2 separate regions of the Homo sapiens genome follow, and region 2 is linked to region 1. The links are contacts of gene promoters, found by promoter capture Hi-C in human tissues and cell types (Jung and others, 2019). All regions are on one chromosome and are shown on one strand. The core of a region is centred on a gene start or on the middle of the fragment in contact, and the rest is flanking DNA. Distances in the headings are between cores, read along the strand shown. Region 1 has its middle 12 kb from the start of CARMIL3. Region 2 holds the start of ZFHX2 (zinc finger homeobox 2).

Region 1 (6,424 bases), core at 1,093-3,592:
TACCACTTGAATATAGACATCTGGATCTCAGATTTTCTTGACATTGCAGTTAGGAAGAAAATAATATAGGTTTTTATTTTTACTTTTTTAAAGGATGTATATTATAAAGTGGCAACTGGTTATTTCACCAGAATTAGTATTTTACTTAACTAGCAGCTTTTAATATTTCCCAGCTAATGAAAAATGATTCCTTTTTGGCAGCTGAAAGGGGGACAGTTGGGTGTGTAAGTTTAAGTGTCATAGTTGTTGGCATATTAGCTGCCACGTCTCTGTTGGAAATCAACCAGGTAGCAGAGCATGCCGGGAAGAAGGCTGGGGAGGGGAGCAGACGGTGGATAGTGAAGGGCAGATGGAAGCAGACAGAAGTAGGAGCAGCAGAAACGAATGAGAAGGGCAGGGACAGAGGAAGCTGCCCCCACCCGCCCTTTACCAGGTGTGCTCCAGGTGTGTGGCATGTGGCAAAGACTCCTCACATTTACACTGCACTTGATAAACACATTCTAAAAGCAGACGGAGTTTGTTATCGATAGTGATAGGATATCAATAACTCCATGAAGCTTCATAGCCTAGGGAGAGGGGTAAGGTCTGGACCAGGGCTGCAGTAAGTAAGGGAGGTGCATTTATTCACGTTGATAAAAACTTCCTTCTGGGCGGGGCGTGGTGGCTCACGCCGGGAATCATGGCACTTTGGGAGGTCACGGTGGGAGGACCACTTGAACTGAGCAGTTTGAGAGAAGCCTGGGCAACATAGGGAGACCTTATCCCTATATTTAAAAAAACAACAACAATGACAACAACAACAACAACAAATCTTCCTTCTTAGGAACTATCGTCAAAATAACTTCTATTTCTTAAAACATCTTTTTTGAAAACTACCCTAAGATCTGCTGCTAACCATTTAAGGTTGGCTTCTTTCTTTTTTTAGATGGAGTCTTCCTCTGTCACCCAGGCTGGAGTTCAGTGGCATGATCCCAGCTCACTGCAGCCTTGACCTACTGGGTTCAAGCCATCCTCCTGCCTCAGCCCCCCAAGTAGCTGAGAATACAGGTGCGTGCCATCACACCTGGGCAATTTTTGTACTTTTTGTAGAGACAGGGTCTTGCCATGTTGCCCAGGCTGGTCTGGAACTCCTGAGCTAAAGCCATCCGCCTGCCTCGGCCTCTCAAAGTGTTACAGGTGTGAGCCACCAGGAAGTTGGCCTTATTTCTTTTGCAGTGTTTTCTTCCCACCTCCTATTCTTCTAAGGCTGTCTCTGACCCTATGCTCTTTTCTTTACATTTTCCCATTTGGGAGCTCCTTCATTCTCGTGATTTCAAATCTCACCCCAAAATCTATTTCCAGACCCCTCCTCTTCCTTTCACACTGAGTTCCACCCACATTTCTCCAAGTGCTTACTGTCCAGTTCTTCTTGAATAAGTTACCATTATTTCAAAGTCAATCTGGCCACACTTACCTGAATGGAAAAACTGGCTTAAATAGAGCTGTAGAAAGTTACCCTGGAGGGGCCTTTGAGATCATCTATTCCAATGTCCTTAAGGTGGAGATGATGAAACAGGTTCAGGGAATTTTCTCAAGATCATATAGTTCAGTAGTAACACACTGGGGCTAGCTAAGAACAGGAGGCCTGCTTATTCCGTGTTGGGGAAAGTGATTTGTTCAGGGCATAAAGCTAGTTAGTGGTGGAAGAACTGAGGTCAGTCTCCCACTTTGTAGCACAGAGCTAATTCGTAAGAGCCCTCTGAAAGTGAGCTGGGGTCATTAGGAAACCGGCTGCCCAGGAGAGCCATGATGGGAGAAGATACCAGCCTGAATTTAAAGCAATTCCATATTTGGTTATGATGTCATTTTCCCTGTCTCTGTCTCTCTCTTTTGACCTGGAGGCATGAAAGATTCAAGGCAGAAAGGGAAATTTAAACTGAGAAAGCCAAGAAAGGCAACATCTCACCTCCTTAATAAGTTATAAGTAGGTAGTGAGGCATGTGCTAGAGTAATGAATGGCCAAGCAGAATCTGCCAACAAGGGTTTTCAGTACAAAGCCACCCTGAAACCAGACTTTGCATTTGCCTGGAACTGGCAATTTTGATGCCTTGGGCAAGTAGCAGTACATGGGCCCTTGGTCAATTTTGTGCTCCGGATTTGGCCCACGGAGGGGTGTTATTAACAATGTACACCATCTGCTAGCTTCCCATTTTAACTAATTATTCTTGTTAACTAGGTGCTAACCTTCAACACAGTTGAAGAAATGCCTGGGCTGTCAACGTGTAAATCTAACAAAATTTAAAGTCAAGTACTCTTTTAAAACCAGTATGAATACTTTCTTGCACCCTTTAAATTTTGGTATCCTGGCACAAAGCCAAGTCACCTGCCTTGGCTCTGTGTAAGTCTCACCAATGTACTTGTTACTAGGGAGGTGCAGAATAAGTTAATAAGTGATGTGTGCTGTGCTCAGTGCACGTGTGTTTGGGCTGGGAGAAGACAGTGGATTGCTCCAGAATCACCTGGAGACATTTTCTACTCTGCTGCATACCCCATGCCCCTCTACTTCCAGGTCTGTCAGCACAGAGATGGGAGGAGGCTGGGTTTTGAATGAACAGAGACAGCAAACCATAAAAGATGAATGAGGCTGGGTGTGGTGGCTCACACCTATAATCCTAGCACTTTGGTACGGCCAGTAGGGAGGACCGCTTGAGGCCAGGAGTTCAAAACCAGCCTGGGCAATAAAGCCCCAACTCTACAACAAATTTAAAAGATGAACTGGCGTGGTGGTGCATGCCTATAATCTTAGCCACTTGGGAGGCTGACGGGGGAGGACTGCTTGAGCTCAAGAGTTGGAGGTTACAGTGAGCTATGATCATGCCACTGCACTCCAGCCTGGGCAACAGAGTGAGGCCCTGTCTCTGGGGGGAAAAGAAAAAGATGTCTTCTAAGTGTTCTAAATTGTGTGATCACTACACTAAAGTGGTTAGGAGCTGTTTGTTCTGTGTTCTGATAGTTATACATTTTTAAGAAAAAATATAATCAAGCAGATAGGCAGCTACTCTGGTTTCCACTTACAACACCAGTGAGAAGCTTCGTGGTGTGCAGATGAGGAGGCCACTGGGTAGTATCCATTCTCAGGGCAGTGGCTTTTCTCATTGCAGGGTAACATGTGACAACTGGCAGAAGACATTTCAAATTGCTGACAAGTATTCTATCATTCTCCTCTCTGACAATGGTCATACAAACTACCTGAGAGTCATTTTTGACTTCTCTATTTCCCACTTTTTGACATGGGGTTGGAAAATCTTGGTTCGTTTCCACTGAATGTCTCTTGGGCACATCTATTCCAGTCCCACCGCCACTGCTCTAAACCTGGACGACAGCAACAGCTTCCTCACTGATGCCCTGGATTTGGTGTCTCCTCTGTATATCCTTCCTACCAGAGCCAGATTAGCTTTCCTAATAACCATCTTTCTCTTGCTCAAAACCTCACATGGCTTCTTATTTGCTACAAGAGTGTGTAAACATATCCTTTTAAGAGGCTATATCCTTTTAAGGTCCTTAACGTATCCTTTTAAGAAGCTATGGCCGGGCGCAGTGGCTCACGCCTGTAATCCCAGCACTTTGGGAGGCTGAGTGGGTGGATCACCTGAGGTCAGGAGTTCAAGACCAGCCTGGCCAACATGGTGAAACCCCGTCTCTACTAAAAATACAAAAATTAGCTGGGCATGGTGGTGGGCACCTGTAATCCCAGCTACTCAGGAGGCTGAGGCAGGAGAATTGCTTGAACCTGGGAGGCAGAGGTTGCAGTAAGCCGAGATGGTGCCACTGTACTCCAGCCTAGGCGACAAGAGTGAAACTCCGTCACAAAAAAAAAAAAAAAAAAAAAAAAAAAAAAAAAAAAAAGATATGGAGGCCCATGGCCTCTATCTTTCCAATGCAGCCCCTTCCCCAGCAGTACTCCTGAGCCTGTGCTCTCCATTGTGGCCTGACAGTGCTCCTCTCTTTCCTTCAGTTCCTCCTTGGCTGTCTGCTCATTTTGCAGAGTTATCTGGAACCTCGTCACTATTCCATCTGTCCATTCCCATCCATTCCTTAAGGTTTAGCTCAAGTACCACCTCTGGGCCAGGCCTGTAGGCCATGTTAAGTGAACCTGGTGGGGGCCACAGGATGTTTTCCCAACAGGGTTTTCACATTACATTGCTACTTACATGTGATATGGTTAGTCACTAATTGACCCAGACTCCCAAACGGCTCCTTCCACCATCAGGATCAAGGCCCCAATCTTGGGCTCTGTCCACCAGCCTAGGCCAGGCAAGGTGACTTTCTAGGACTCACATTTGGCTCTTTCCAATGCACATTTGAGCATTTGCCAGACAGTTCCTTAAAAACGGAATTACCCTATACTGTCTACCATGCTACTGTCTACTATTGCTTAAGATCCTCCTCTTCTAAGATTATGCAAATTATTTCTGCCAACCTTCCAATCTGTTAGCACAACCCTGTACTTTCCATTTTTGGGTAGATTCTCCCTTCCACTCTGGAAAATAAAGTGTGTATCCTGAGCCTCAAGGGAAGAGGAGCTTGCTTTGCTGGATGGTTCATATTTCCTTCGGCAGCTGGAAGGCTGGTATCCACTACTAACTGTGACACTGACTTATATACTTTCTTTGAGACTAAAGTCCAGTACCTGGTAGTCCACAGGCAGCCAATAAAGGAAGGGAGCTTGGGAGGTCTGGGTCTTTCCTTACTGGCTGTGGGACCTTGGGAAGTTGCTCCAGCTATCTGAGCCAGCGTCTGCAGACCGAGAGAATAGTCCTTGCCTTGCTTGGGTTGTTGTCAGGTCTAGAGATAACCTGTGTAAGGCTCTGAACACAGGAAATGGCACATAGTAAGTGGTTGAAACATGGTGGGCTGCTTCCTGAAGTTCCCAGGGACTTGACTCTGTAAGCTGAAGAAGAGGGGAATGTTTATTAGCTCATGGGTGGGAACATCTATTTTGTGATTGTATTTACCCTTCTCATCTGTCCAGTTAGGTTGAAAATTACTGGAGAACCAGTACCAGCGGTTTCTTTGGGGTATGCAAGGGATGATGCAGGGTTGAAGCATTAGAATGTTTTAACATTCTCTGATTGGGATGGGATTATTCTCCAACTTTAATATATGGACATAATAGAAAGGCACACAATAAAAACGTGCTGGTGGGCTGGTTGGGTATGCAGAACACACTGTTATGTTTTAGTTAACATCACTGCGTTGGATCTCACCAATGCTGTCCAGGAAAGCAGGGAAGGAGGCTCAGGCTGGCTCCCTTTTCCACCTCCTGGCTCTGTGCCCATTTCCCTGCAGCTCACTGTGGCCACCAGCCGCTCCCAGTCCTTCATCTTCCCCACATGGCACACAGTGCCCGTCATGCTCAGCCCCTCCCCCTGCAGCGTGGCCACTGCCTGGTCCACATTCTGCTGCTTCCGGCGGCTGACTACCACGTGGGCCCCGTCTTGGGCCAGACGCTGGGCGACGGCGAAGCCGATCCTGTGAGCAGAGACAAAGACTGCTAAGGCTTGTGCAGGGGAAGAGATGGACAGCATGGGCTCTGAAGTTAGACTGCCCGGTTTTGAATTCTGGCTCTTTCTCTATATGACCTCCATGTGTCTCTACTACGTGTAAAACAGGCTTAATGGCACAGCCATTTTTGGCGTTCCTTTACTTATTTTTATTATCATCTTGGACTGCAGCCTCAGTTCCCAAGAACTGACATCACTTTCTACAGTTCCCACCATGGGTGACAGGCTTCATCCCCTCTTGGGACTGAGAGGTGAGAAATGAGCTGGGTTTGCAGCAGCAGCCACTTCCGTGATTTGAGGGTCTCACTCAGAACAGCCCTGCCTCCAGGTTTCTTTCTTACTAGTCTACATCATTCTGAAAATTCTATCCTTAATTATTTTTTGGGGTGCATGTGAAAAGATGGTCTCCGGTCAAAAATGTAAATATTGCCTTGGGAGGAAGAGTTACACATTTTGCACTTGTCAGCCATTAGCATTTTACCTACATTTGTATTTTAGTTTTGTGAAGAGTTGGCATCTAGCAAAGTCCTGTAGAAATGAGAACCAGGACTGAGAAGAGAGGTGGGTGAGAAACAGGCTGGCGAAGGTCGGCCCAGATGTACCGACCTAAACAAAAATCTCGACACTTGGCTCTGGTGTCCCATCTAGGTAAGGGGGAGGGGTTCCGGGAGACTTTCCGGTGCCCAAATAGAATGTCTGGTACATTTTCAAAGTGCTGGAGGCCTTGGGATATGATTTTGAAATCCAGATTCCCTTGGATTTCTAGTTTCTGGTCTTCCCGGACGCTAGGTGGTGCTGGTTGACGGGGGCAGCCCAGAACACTGGGGGGACTAGATCGATGGGACTTCACAGAGGAGGCACAGTTGTGCCAGAGGCAGCAG
Region 2 (7,867 bases), core at 3,664-6,163, 490 kb after region 1:
TCAGTACAGAACCCCTCCCTGGAAAAACTTATGAGGGGCACACTGTGTCGCAATAGTCTCTAGGGCTACTGCCCTTTTCTCTCTACCTCGGTGACATTAAGGCCCCGTCGGTGATATTTTAAGGCTCTGACAGTGACAGGTCTCCAGTAAAATCCCTTCCACTGCTGCTGATGTCCTCAATCCAAAGAGACCCCTAGAAAGCAGGCCGGGTAGCGGGTGTCCTTTCAACGCCCCCCTCTCTACACCTTGCCACCCCAGGAGGCTACTGGCTCACGACCCGGGAGGACCTGCCCTTTCCTGCTACACTACCGGCCAGCGGAACTTCAGGTCTCACCTCAAAGCCCGAGAGTCTCCTCGCGGGACCCACAGAGGGGGAAGGGAGCCCACGCCATACACTCGCGAGGAATGCCGGGAGCAGTTCCGGATCCCGGACCTCGGCCCGACCCTCCGCGCGCCCGGCAGGTCCCGGCACCAGCGGCCATATTACGCCCGTTGTGGCGGTGCCGAGAGCAGGCCAGGGCTCGAGACACGCGCTATGTAATGGGAGGCCGCGACCCCCGCGGTGGCCAGGGGAGCGAGGCCGCCCCTTGCATTCTGCTCCTCATTGTTGGCCCCGCACGGCTCCCGGGGGCTGGTACAGGTCTCATGCCTGAGGCTGAGCCAGGCACCCCGAGGCGCGGATGCATGATGGGAGATGTAGTTCCAAAGGGAGACTTTGCCATCTCGCCCCGCCCGTCGCTATGGCGACAGGAAAGCTGCACTTGGTGCCTGCGGTACTCTACCTAAAGCTGAACTGGGGCTACAAGGCGGCGGGGAGAGTCGGGTGCAAGGAGCTCAAGCCCCAGTCCCGTCTCCAACACCCCCCGCCGCACCCCCAACGCAGGCAGATGGGCCTGGAATACAAGCCATTCACACCGTCCAACAGATATCTGCTATAGCAGCCAGCTAAGCGCAGGCCAGTGGCAATGGTGGCGAGGGGGGTTGGGGTGGGGGGAGGGAAGGGGGCGGGGGCAGCGCGTAATAAAGTCCAGTTTAGCTACTCTGGAGTTTTAGAGGGGATCTAATACCTCCTGGCATGAACGTTGAGGGTAAGAGTGGGTGAGAAACTTTCTGTCAGAGAATAAAGTGGTATTTTGGCCAGGAACTAAAGATATGATGGTATTTCAACAGTTGGAGACCTAGATGGAGACAGGAATAGCCTAAGCAAAGGCCCAGAAACTGGAGAGCACCTGGGTGGTACGTAAGGAGAAGACGAGGCTAGAAATGCAGTTGAGGGAAAAGCCTTGAGTGCTAGACTGAGGAGTTTGTCAGAGTTTCCAGCGGTCCCTAAGCAGTTTTTGTCAGGTGTAGAACTACTTATGTTCATTTAGAATACAGAAAGGCCGGTGCGGTTGCTCACACCTGCAATCCCAGCACTTTGGGAAGCCGAGGCAGGTGAATCACCTGAGGTCAGGAGTTCGAGACCAGCCTGGCCAACATGGAGAAACCCCCCCGGCCCGCCGTCTCTACTAAAAATGCAAAAATGAGCCGGGCATGGTGGCGCGTGCTTGTGTTCCCAGCTACTCCAGAGGCTGAGGCATGAGAATTGCTTGAACCTGGGAGGCAGAGGTTGCAGTGAGCTGAGATGGCGCCACTGCACTCCAGCCTGGGCGACAGAACGAGACTCCATCTGTCCCCAAAAAAATAAAATTCAGGAAAACATGGGGGTTGGCCCTTTGAATGCTTTGGGAGACAAAATATTAATAGAGATGATTCCTTCTTACTCCCTCTGAGGACTATGGTTATCTGGAGACTCTAACTATATGTCTGACCTTCCATGTGAGGAAGCTCCCTGAGGAACCGTGGCTCTTAACTCCTGGACTCCTTCCTATGATGGGTGAGAAGTGCCATGTTCTCAACACCTGCCCTCTCACCAGTATGTTTCTGGAAATACATGACCAGTGAGAGGTATTATAGGGAGAAGGACACTGGTTTAAAGACATGGCATTTTGGCCAGGTGTGTTGACTCACACTTGTAATCCTAGCACTTTGGGAGGTCGAGGCAGGAGGATCATTTGAGGCCAGGAGTTTGAGACCAGCCTGGGCAACATAGGAAGACCCTGTTTCTACAAAAAAAAAAAAAAAAAAATTTTAATTAGCCGGGTGTGGTAGTGCATGCCTGTGGTCCCAGCTGCTCAGGAGGTTGAGGCAGCGGGATAGCTTGAGCCCAGGAGGTCAAGGGCAGTGAGCTACGATCCTGCTACTGCCTGCACTCCAGCCTCGGCAACAGAGCAAGACCCTGTGCATAAATAAATAAACAAATGGCATCTTGAACTTGGAGTAGCTTGGGTCAACCTCTGTCCCCACTCCATGTTAAGCACTGTTGGTTAGGGAGAGAAGAAACCCCAGCTCCTAAAGCCTGCTTTTCATCCATCTTTTGCTTTCCGGTTTTGTTAACCTGGGATGAAGACCTAATTTTTCCTTATGTTATAAGATCCAATCCAGTGGGGCAAAAGCAGCAGCTTATTTGAACAGAAAGACCAGTTTCCGGAGCCAGACCTGAGGTCGACTCCCAGCTTCACTTTCTAGATGTTTGGCCTTCCGCAAGCTACTCCACTTTCCTAAGCATCTGCTTTTTTTTTTTTTTTTTTTTTTTTTTTGAGACAGAGTCTCACTCTGGCGTCTCAGCTCACTGCAACCTCTGCCTCCTGGGTTCAAATGATTCTCCCGCCTCAGCCTCCTGAGTAGTTGGGACTACAGGCACGTGCCACCCCACCCTCCTAATTTTTGTTTGTTTGTTTGTTTGAGACGGAGTCTCGCTTTGTCGCCCAGGCTGGAGTGTAGTGGCGCCATCTCGGCTCACTGCAAGCTCCGCCTCCAGGGTTCATGCCATTCTCCTGCCTCAGCCTCCCAAGTAGATGGGACTACAGGTGCCCACCACCATGCCCGGCTAATTTTTTGTAATTTTAGTAGAGATGGGGTTTTACCCTGTTAGTCAGGATGGTCTCGATCTCCTGATCTTGTGATCCACCCGCCTCCACCTCCCAAAGTGCTGGGATTACAGGTGTGAGCCACCACGCCCGGCCTGTTTTTGGTTTTGAGACGGAGTTTCACTCTTGTTGCCCAGGCTGGAGTGCAATGGTGTGATCTTGGCTCACCGCAACCTCTGCCCCCCGGGTTCAAGCGATTCTTCTGCCTCAGCCTCCCGAGTAGCTGGGATTACAGGTGCCCACCACCACGCCCAGCTAATTTTGTATTTTTAGTAGAGACAGGGTTTCACCATGTTGGTCAGGCTGGTCTCGAACTCCTGACCTCAGGTGATCTACCCACCTCAGCCTCCCAAAGTGCTGGGATTACAGGAGTGAGCCACCATGCCCGGCCAGCCTCTGCTTTTTCATTGAGAAAATGTGGCCTGCCTCACAGTTACCTGTGAGGATTCAGTCATAAACTGTCACATAGTATAAACTCAAAATGTTCATTTATCTCTCCTTTTTGTCATGTGAACTTCAGGGTTTTGTTGTGTTGTTTAAGAGAAGTAGGCTATAGCAGTTAGTATGGGCCCTGGAGCCAGACCATGGAGGTTTTTGAGTCCTGGCACTGTCACTTACTTATTGGCCATTGGACCTTGGGCCTGTTAATTCACTTGTTTGTGCCTTAGTTTCCTCAATAAATGAGACTATAATAGCATCTACCTCATGCTTGAGGTATTGAGAGGAGTAAACAATGTATGTAAAAGTGCTTGGAACTGTCCCTGTGCATTCAAGAAATCTTAAAAATTATTATTAGAATACAGGAGCGGCCGGGTGAGGTGGATCACCCCTATAATCCCAGGACTTTGGGAGGCTGAGGCCGGTGGATCACCTGAGGTCAGGAGTTCGAGACCAGCCTGGCTAAGATGGTGAAACCCCCGTCTCTACTAAAAATACAAAATTAGCAGGGCATGGTGGTGGGCACCTACAATCCCAGCTACTTGGGAGGCTGAGGCAGGAGAATCACTTGAACCTGGGAGGTGAAGGTTGCAGTGAGCCGGGATCATGCCACTGCACTGCAGCCTGGGCGACAGAGTGACTCTGTCTCAAGAAAAAAACAAACAAACAAAAAAACGGGCTGGGCGCGGTGGTGGTTCACACCTGTAATCCCAGCACTTTGGGAGGCCGAGGCAGGCGGATCACAAGGTCAGGAGTTCGAGACCAGCTTGACCAACGTGGTGAAACCCCGTCTCTACTAAAAATACAAAAATTAGCTGGGTGTGTTGATGCATGCCTGTAATCCCAGCTACTTAGGAGGCTGAGGTAGGAGAATCGCTTGAACCCGGTGGTGGAGGTTGCAGTGAGCCGAGATCGCACCACTGCACTCCAACCTGGGCGACTGAGTGAGACTCCGTCTCCAGAAAAAAAAAAAAAAAAAAAATTCAGGAGCACTTAATAAGCGATAAACTGAAGATGAGGAGGAGCCCGAACCTCCCCCAACCCAGCTCAGGGGACTATGTAACCGTGTGGAGGAGGCAGAAGCTCTCAGAGACTAAAGAGTAATTGCTGCGGTAGAGAAGGTTCTAGTACCCAATTTCGCGGGGGGAGATGGGGGAGGCGGAATAATAAGGCAGGAAGAAGAGAATGAAAAAAGGAGGCCTTGGGCGGCTCAGGGCTTGTTCTGAAGCTGATTTAAAACAAAACAACAAAACACATGTATGGTTTCTGCAGGCCACAGGATGAAGAGGAGAGGAGACGGAAAAGAGTTTAAAGGGGCCTGCCCTCTTTGCAGGCACCGGCTTGAACCTGGAGGCGACCTGGTGGGCTGGCCGGCCTGCCCCCGGCCCTGGGTCCCGCGAGGCAGGCGGGCGGGCGCGAACAGACTACAACTCCCGGCATGCGCCGCGGCGGGCGGGTCGCTGCACCTGCTCAGTGGGGCAGCCCCGGGCGCCTGGGTATTGATTATTCCATTGTGTGGGACGCCTAGACTCCAGCCAGTGAATGAGGCGGAGGAGTGAGGGCGAGGAGGAGGAGGAGGAGGAGGGCGAGGAGGAGAAGGAGGAGGAGGAGGAGGAGGCAGGGAGCGAGCGAGTGCCCAGGGTGAATCAATGGAAACCCCCTCACGAAGCCGGGGAAACACTTCAGCCGCAGCCAAATAGCATTGATTATTTTCCTTCACTTCCCTCACCGCCGTGAATTTATTTATTTATTTTTTTCCGTCTCCGTCCCTGACGCCCCGGAGCGAGCGCTGGAGGGAGGGAGGAGGAGGGGAAAAAAGAGGAATCAACACATCGGAGAAGTCCCTTCCAAGAGCCGCCCCCTCCCCTCCCCGCCTCGCGCTGCTCGGTGGCCGCGGTTCGACTCCCGTCCCTGCTTCCAGCTGAGGTGTAAGTGCATCGATTTCCGATGCTGCTGGGTTGGTTTTTTTCTCCTCTCCCTCTCTCTCTTCTTCCCTTCCTTGCTCTTTGGAAGCTCGAGACGGGAGAGGAGGCGCTTGGAGACTGCCGCTGGAGGGGACGGAGAGGGACGGGAAGGGGCTGGGGGAGGGGACAAGGACGGACGGACAGACAGACCGAGAGCCCTGGGAGATAGCAGACAGGGGTGTGGGAGGAAGAGGGCGTGCGCGAGGATGGGGGAAGAGAGATGCGGGGGTGGAGGGAGAAACGGGAACGGGAAAGGCAGAGGCCCGCCGGACAGACGAAGGGTATGGAAAGCCTAGACGGACCGCGCCGAGTTGGGCAGGGAGCGGGGATCCCGGGGGGAAGGGGAGGCCCGGTGAGTGTGAGGGCTCAGAGCTGTCAGCCTGGAGGGTCCTGGGTCTCGGCGGCCCCCCGCCGGCTGTGGGATGGGAGAACCGCGGCCGGCGGGCTGATGGATGGGCTAGCGCGCTGGGGCGTGGAGTGGGAGGGGACGTGGATACTCTCAGTCTTCGTTCGTTTTTGGCTGAAGTTGGGCTTTCCATTCCTTTTTTTGAAAGTGTTGAGTAGGTGAGGGGAGGCCATAAGCCCATTCAAGGTGAAGCGTGTCTGTCCTGCACGCCCATCCTACCACCCCCATCCGCTCGTCTGCCCCTCTGAGCAGCCCTATCATTTTCAAGCACAGGACCACGCTTCCTCGCTGTGCCTGTAGCCCCGCTGATCTCTGTCCATGTGTCCCTGACTTTTGGTTTTGCTGTTCTTCATCTTGTCTCTTCCATCCCATCCATCTCTGGATCTGTATGTCACTGTCTCCACTTGTGACCCTTCCCATCTGAGTGATCCTCTCCTTGTGTGTCTCTATCACTATGTGTCACGCCTTGGCTGCCTGTTCTGTCGGTCTAGGATTCCATGCCCTCTCCTTCAGAGTCTGTCTGGATATCTCTGGCCTTTTCAGGCTACTTTGGAATTTGCTTATCAGTCATGATTGTGGTGGTCACAGTCAGGGCCTGGAGGAGTGGGATGATGGAGCAAATGTGTCTTCGCCAAAGCCTCTAGTGCCTTCAGCATGGCCAGGACAGCCTCCTCTTCCACCATCACCAGAGAAGCTTTGGAACTTCCTAGCATTGTTGACTGTCCCCTTTGCCATGTGCCTGTCTCCCTCATCAGAACCTCACCTTCTGGTCTCATGCGTGTCATCTGCCTTTCCAGGAGCTTCGCACAACAAAACCTCTTCCCTGCTGACTTAATTTTACTCCCTTCCCCCACTGTATCATTGTATATTTTTTATTTCCCCATTTTGCTTCACCCCTTTTTTCCATCTGTTTCCCATGAGCTCTGAGTTTCCACCTTTGTTCCCATAATCTGCCCTCTTCCTACCTTTTCTTCTTGATCACCCTAAGTTTCTAGTTTCTTTTATCCCTTTTCCTCTTATCCAGCATTTTAACCCCAGCAGCAGAAAGTACCAGCAAGCAAAGGGCTGGGAGAGGTGTGGGGTATGGTTTGTGAAGGCACATAAACAGGCCAAGAAATAAATTTAATGAGCTTCCAGGGGCATATAACCCCTCCATCAGTCAGTGCCATTATGTCAGTTAACTGTCAACTTTGATTTTGTAAGGGGACATTCCCTAGGACTCTAAGCTCCACCCTGCCTGGTTGCCCCCCATCCTTCAGTTCATTCTAGATATCAGTTGCTTTTTCTTCACTTTTTAGTTCATCTTCTTCCTAGGCCCCTGCTACTATCATATTTAGATCCAGCACCATTTTTTTTTAATGAGGCAGTGTTTATTAGTGTAATAAAAGCTATCGTATGTAAGGAGCCAAGTTCATTTAGCCTGAAGAACAGTAAGGGTGGATAAAGGATCTGGAGAGTTTACCTTAGTTTTTAGCCCATCATTGTTTTTCCAAACCTCAGGAGCTTGGAAAGGTAAAAGGAGCAGGCAGACATGGGCAGAAGATGGACGATTTCAGAGGTGAACAGAATTAAAGAAAGAAAGGGGTGGTCGGTGCAATAAACACATGGGGTAGAGAAATGTATGACGTGAGGGATGTGCAAAGGAAGGGAGGAAAATCTATGCGGACTCGGGGGCAGGGGAGGAACCAAGGGGTGATTAATAAGAAATTGGAAGAATGAAACAAAACGTGTTGATAGCAATACAGAAGGTAAAAGGAAGAGAAATGATAGAATATTCCTAAAGTGGAGGTCAACAGAAAAAGCACTATGAAATTAATACAGTAGTAAAGAGGGGGAAGGGAGGAATTGCTGAACAAGATGAGATGGGAAGAGAGTATGGTACAAAGAAGGTAAATGGATGGCAAACGAAGGAGTGCTGAGGCAGATCAGAGCTGCACAGAGCTTGGTAGGAGGAAAAGAGGAGAGGATGAGGTATCAAAGGAAACAAATGCCTCTGGTGTGAGGAGGACACAGCGTGACTGATGCGAAGAGAGCGAGAGCACTGCGGGGGCGCCGGGGGGTTGGAAAAAAAGCATAGCACAAATAGCAGG

Evidence for each region. The method cuts DNA at HindIII sites, captures the fragments that hold promoters and counts their contacts. A contact is called where the count stands out against the background at its distance.
Region 2: a contact is called between the fragment with the promoter of ZFHX2 here and a fragment that was not itself captured in region 1, in 2 of the 25 tissues and cell types used here (bladder and dorsolateral prefrontal cortex).

What each region holds. Positions count from the first base shown.
Region 1 is chr14:24,036,830-24,043,253 of GRCh38, reverse strand. It overlaps the pseudogene DHRS4L1. Among named protein-coding and RNA genes, the nearest start is that of CARMIL3, 12 kb to the left of the region's middle. RefSeq lists an enhancer at 6,324-6,413. The HindIII fragment of the contact is 6,357 bases long and covers 1-5,520 here.
Region 2 is chr14:23,548,811-23,556,677 of GRCh38, reverse strand. ZFHX2 (zinc finger homeobox 2) reads left to right here and starts at 4,913. Exons shown (of 10, transcript NM_033400.3): 1 at 4,913-5,335. THTPA (thiamine triphosphatase) reads right to left here and starts at 407. Exons shown (of 2, transcript NM_024328.6): 1 at 1-407. RefSeq lists enhancers at 275-534, 93-1,027, 4,560-4,609, 5,459-6,121 and a silencer at 4,740-4,979. The HindIII fragment of the contact is 20,255 bases long and covers 1-7,867 here.